2 separate regions of the Homo sapiens genome follow, and region 1 is linked to region 2. The links are contacts of gene promoters, found by promoter capture Hi-C in human tissues and cell types (Jung and others, 2019). All regions are on one chromosome and are shown on one strand. Each heading gives the region's core, a stretch centred on a gene start or on the middle of the fragment in contact. The rest is flanking DNA. Distances are from core to core; before and after follow the strand shown.

Evidence for each region. The method cuts DNA at HindIII sites, captures the fragments that hold promoters and counts their contacts. A contact is called where the count stands out against the background at its distance.
Region 1: a fragment that was not itself captured here is called in contact with the fragment with the promoter of GAST in region 2 in 2 of the 25 tissues and cell types used here (dorsolateral prefrontal cortex and pancreas).

The regions. Positions count from the first base shown.
Region 1 is chr17:41,894,571-41,897,270 of GRCh38, reverse strand. ACLY (ATP citrate lyase) reads left to right here. Exons shown (of 29, transcript NM_001096.3): 14 at 622-651. It overlaps LOC124904005 (a long non-coding RNA gene), which reads right to left. Exons shown (of 2, transcript XR_007065757.1): 1 at 1,883-2,700; 2 at 1,505-1,548. Among named protein-coding and RNA genes, the nearest start is that of ACLY, 23 kb to the left of the region's middle. The HindIII fragment of the contact is 6,856 bases long and covers 1-2,700 here.
Region 2 is chr17:41,711,047-41,713,746 of GRCh38, reverse strand. GAST (gastrin) reads right to left here and starts at 1,416. Exons shown (of 3, transcript NM_000805.5): 1 at 1,360-1,416. The HindIII fragment of the contact is 8,154 bases long and covers 1-2,700 here.

The sequences.
Region 1 (2,700 bases), core at 163-2,662, 180 kb before region 2:
TGTCAGCCCATCTGTATTTCAACTAATTTTTCTCTCCGTGTAGATGTGATTCCTGCCGGCCAGCCCTTGCAGCCAGCTCTACATAAGTGGTGTTAGTTACCCCTGGGCTGGTATACCTGTGCAGCCTCTTCCTGGGACACACTTTGCTATGGCATTTTGGAAAATAGTGACACTGTCCCAAATCAGCATCCTTGTCCATGGCACGGGTCAACCCCATGCTGGCCAATCATCTCATAGTGTTTCATGGAGACAAAAAGGGATTGGCATTAAGAGGGTGGGACTGCGCCAGCTAGAGAGCCCAGAGTTCAAGTCATCCAGCTGTCCCTGCAGAGGGCCTGGGGGAGGCGCTGGTGTTGAGCACATCTGCCCAGCCTTTGTCCTCCTCCTGCCCCCTCTCTGCCCGTTTGGTCTTTGCTCTTTCTTGCTTCCATTCTGCTCATCGGTGCTTTCACCTCTTCTGCTGGCCTTACTCCGTTGTCCATTGCAGAACAGGAGAGGGATGATGAGGGCTTTAGCCCTGAAAGGCTTGTCCATGGGACCCTTCCCTGTTCCCACCCTCTCCCTCCAAAGCCTCCAGCCATCAGTGGGTCACTCAGTTGCCTTGGTCATTTTCTTTGACAGATTCAGTCCCAAGTCCAAGATCCCTGCAAGGTAGGATGCCCCCACCCTGCCCCCACTCCGCGTGTGGCTTTGTTAGCGGGTGACAGTTTTACTGTGTGCTCTGTTTCCCCCTCCCCTGGTGGGTTGCAGTGTCGTCTGGTCTATTTTCTGTCCCTGCCTTGATGTGGCCTGACCCCAAGTCCTAAGTCTTCGCTCTTCCTCCCCTCCTATCCGTGCTCAGTACGCGCCCCACTCAGTCCTCTCCTCACTGTGTGGCTGTTTCTGGCTCCAAGCTTGGGAAGGGGTAGAGATTTTGGAAGGAGCAAGAGCCAGACCCACAGCCCTGGAGAGTGTAGTGGTGTCAAGGAGAGAGTGTCGCCTGGGAAGGAGGGAGCCATCCAACTAAATGGGGAGTGGCAGAGAGTCGTGGGCGTCTGTCACTGCTGGGGTGCAGAAGGGGAGCCACAAGTCACCCCTGCTTCTCATTTACATCTCCTGATGTCATTTTCCCACCTTTCCTGCCTCGGCTTCACCACTGCCAGCTTCATCCTCAAGCTCCAGGGACCAGTTTATCTTTTTCTGGGGTTGTGGTGGAGGAACAAAAGAGGTGAAGAAGGAGGTAGACGGAAGCGCAGAAGGGTGTGCAGCGGATCTAGTGACTGGGTAATTGGAAGGGGTATGAGCTTTGTCTGGTGTATGAGGTCACATTTTACAGTGGATACTTCTGTGCATGCGCATTCACCCACCAGCCTAGCTGAGTAGATTAATTGGTTCATGGCATCAGAGCGTCCATTTAACTTTGACATTCACAGCCGTGGAGGCGGGGAAGTCTTTGTTGTCCCCTTGCTAAGGGGAGGGGAAGGAGTAATTGGCAGGGTCGATAACCAGCTGGAAAGGCCTGGAATGCAGCACTGTGGCCACCTGGCTTTAATCCTGATGTTTTTGCCTCTGGAAAAAGTTAAGAGCAGAGTGAGCCCAGTGTGGAAAGAACAGGGACCAGCCCTGGTTCTCCAGGAGCTCTCTGTGCTCTGAAGGGGAGGAGGGTTATGAGGAGGGGGGTTATCCTTGTTACTTTCTGGAGTGAGAGAAATAAAAGGAGGGTGTGTCAGGGAGAACAGATTATGGCTGAGCGAGCCCTCCCCTCAGCGAGGCCAGAGGAGGCCTGGTGTAGGGGGCATAGCCCCTGGCACAGAGGTTCTCTCTGGAGCCTCTCTGCTGCTGGTGGGCTGAGGATACACCCTTCAGCTTTGGTTTCTCTGTGCTTGAGGAAGGGCCACTTTACCTCCACCCTTCCTGCTGGAGATGCTGGTAGGTTGGTAGATTCCAGGCTTTGTCTTGATTTCTGTAGCTGGCAGGGTAGATAGATCAGAGGCATGTGCACGTGCGTCACCTGGCGGGGGTGACATGATGCAGGCTTCCCCTGAGGATGGCGGGTCATGAACTCACACTTATATTCTCCCTCCTCACTTTCACAGTTGAGCTGCATTTTAAGTGATTGTGTAATCCTGGCTCTGATGCTGGATGACCTCGGACCTCAATCATTTGGCATCTCTGGGCTTCAGTTTCCTAGGACTGGGAAGTGGGAGAACTGGATTAGGTGGCTCCCCTTGTTCTGTGATCTCATGTCTCAGCAGAACCCGGGGGGTCTAGGTGACAGTAAATCCCAGGTATTTGCAACATCAGGAACCTTCTGTCATGAGAAGCTGTAAGGCTGTGATGGAAGAGGCAGGCCTGTACAGGGATTTAATGAGACCATGAACTTGGTTAGCCAAGCCTGCTCTAGTACAGTAGGTTAATTAATACGAGATGCCACTGGGCTAGATGCATCATTCTTCCTAGGGGAGCTCAGAACCTCCCTGAGGGCTGCTTTCCTCCTCTTGGACTTGCAGGGACCCAGAGGGGAAAGTCAACTGCCTGAAGCGTGGTAAAAGTCCTTTCCCTTTAGGCTAAGGACTGCACTTTTTTCTTTTTTTTTTTAAATATACTTGCTGCATTAAAATTTTCTTTTTAAAATTTTTGTGGGTACATAGTAGGGGTGCATGAGATATTTTGGTACAGGCGTGCAATGCGTAATAATCGCATCATGGAAGGTTTTTCTTT
Region 2 (2,700 bases), core at 167-2,666:
AATACTGTACTGCTTTTAAGTTTTTCTTTTTTTCTTTTCTTTTTGTGAGACAGAATCTTGCTCTGTCTCCCAGGCTGGAATGCAGTGGCTGGCGTGATCCTGACTCGCTGCAGCCTCGACCTCTTGGGCTCAAGAGATCCTCCCACCTCAGCCTCCTGAGTAGTTGGGACTACAAGTGTGCACTACTATGCCCAGCTAATTTTTTTGTTTTTATTTTTAGTAGAGATGAGGTCTCACTATGTTGCCCAGGCTGGTCTGGAACTCCTGAGCTCAAGCAATCTGCTTGCTTCAGCCTCCCAAAGTGTTGTGATCACAGGCATGAGCCACGGTGCCTGGCCATTAAGTTTTTCATAATCAGGTTTTCTGTTAGGTTTTCTTTGGAAGAAAAGAATTCTGCTGCTGAAGAAATGTTTGAAAAATCAGTGATCTGGAGCTGTATTGTCAGATGCTAACCACATGTGTTGTTCAGTGCTATAGCCACCAGCCACATGTGGCTCTTTACATTTAAATTAATTAAATTAAAAAATTATGGTCAGGTGCAGTGGCTCACGCCTGTAATCCCAGCACTTTGGGAGGCTGAGGGGGTTGGATCACTTGAGGTCAGGAGTTTGTGACCAGCCTGGCCAACATGGTGAAACTCTGTCTCTACCAAAAATATGAAAAATTAGCTGGGTGTTGTGGCAGGCGCCTGTAATCCCGGCTACTCGGGAGGCTGAGTCAGGAGAATTGCTTGAACCTGGGAGGCAGAGGTTGCATGTCACTGCACTCCAGCCTGGGTGACACGGCGAGACTCTATATAAAAAAACAAACAACAACAACAACAAAAACTTCCTTACACTAACCCCATTTCAAGCGCACACGTGGCTAGTGGCTACCATATTGAACAGTGCAGATGAAGACCATTTCCTGCATCATAGGACGTTCTTTTGGATGGCACTGGTCTAGGAAAGGGCTTGAAGTGGGATCCAGGAGCTGTGGATTCCTATCCCAGCCTTGCCTAATAATCCCTGTGACTTTGGGCAAGTCACATCTTGCCTCTGGGCCTCAGTTTTCTTGTCTGAGAGAAAGGAGAAGAACCCCAGTCCTCCTCACCTCCCAGGGCTGGGAAGAGTGTGAAGGGATAGGCTAAGGGCAGGGCCCCGGCTGCGGCAGAAGGGCAGGTGGAAGGCAAGGTTGGGAATACCAGGGTAGGTACTGGAGCCAAGACCTAGTTCCATCCTGGGATAAAGAAAGGGTCCCAGCTCTGGAGACCCCAAGGGGTGAGCCCCAGACTCTGGCCAGTGGCCTGGTACCTTGATGGGGGAGAGGACCTGTCAACCCACTTCCTAGCCTCTCCCCTCTCCTCCTGGGTTTTCTCACCTGCAGAGCTGGGAGGTGTGTGGTGCCACGGCTGGGCCTGGTGCCTCTCAGGTCTCTGCTCTGCTTGATGCTCCAGGCCTGCCTTATAAAGCCCTCAAGGTCCCTCCCAACTGTCCCCCCACCCCGCCCCTACCCTGCCATATGAGTCCAGGCGAGAGGAATGGGGTGGGGCACAGGTACAGCCCATCACCCTGCCCCGCCCTTTCATTTAGTGTCAGTCAGTCATCCAGGATGTGGGGGAAGGATAGGGGAGTTGACCTTCATGGTGAGGGGCTGGAGCGGGGTGGCGGCAGCTCTCCAGCTGTACCTGAGGGGCAGGAACCAAGCTCCCTGGGTCAGGAGCAATGCTTCCCACCATATCCTGGGGGTCAGAGGCCTGGCACTTATCTCTCGAACTACATAGGGACCTTTGTGGGTGGTGGTAGGTGAGGGAGTGAACCCGATGGGCTTAGATTCAGGGAAAGTGGATTTCGCCATCCACTGATGTTTGGCAAGCGTGTGAATGTGGGGTGATGTATTGATTCCCCGTCCCCTCCACTGGACTCTGCAAACATAACGTGTTACCAGGAGCAATGGGTTGTGGGCTGATGGCCCTGTTCTCTCCTTCTAGTGGCTCACATCCTGGTCACCTCTGAAGTCCTTTCACCCTCCCCCTACCATGGAACACCCTTGGTGCCTTCTTCTCCTTAGGCCCTCTGTGCTGGGCTGGGTTTGGCTTGTAGCTGCCCCGTGTCTTCTAGGTCAGCTGCCCATGCACCACCACTTGCAAACCCCCTATGCAGAACCAATTCCTGGAGGGTCCTGCCTTTGAAGCCTCCTTCATTTTGCTTTCAAGGGGAGCTAGTAATCTGCATAACAACTTTTTTTTTTTTTTGAGACAAAGTCTAGTTCTGTCACCAGGCTGGAGTGCAGGAGTGCAGTGGTGTGATCTCGGCTCACTGGAACCTCCGCCTCCTGGGTTCAAGCGATTCTTCTGCCTCAACCTCCCTAGTAGCTGGGATTACAGGCGCACGCCCCCACGCCTGGCTAATTTTTTGTATTTTTAGTAGAGATGGGGTTTCATCGTGTTGGGCGGGCTGGTCTCGAACTCCTGACCTCATGATCGGCCCAGCTTAGTCTGCCAAAGTTCTGGGATTACAGACGTGAGCCACCATGCCCAGCCAACAACTTTTCAGTATCAAAATATACCTTCAAATGGTTAGCAAACAGACTAAAGCATTTGCCAAAGATGGACCAGAAAACAAAATGGTACCTTGTTGACTTATTTGATAAACTGCTGCCTCCACATGGTTTGACCAGATGTAATGAGCCGTAGGCTGTTTTTTACTTTTCCACTGTTGA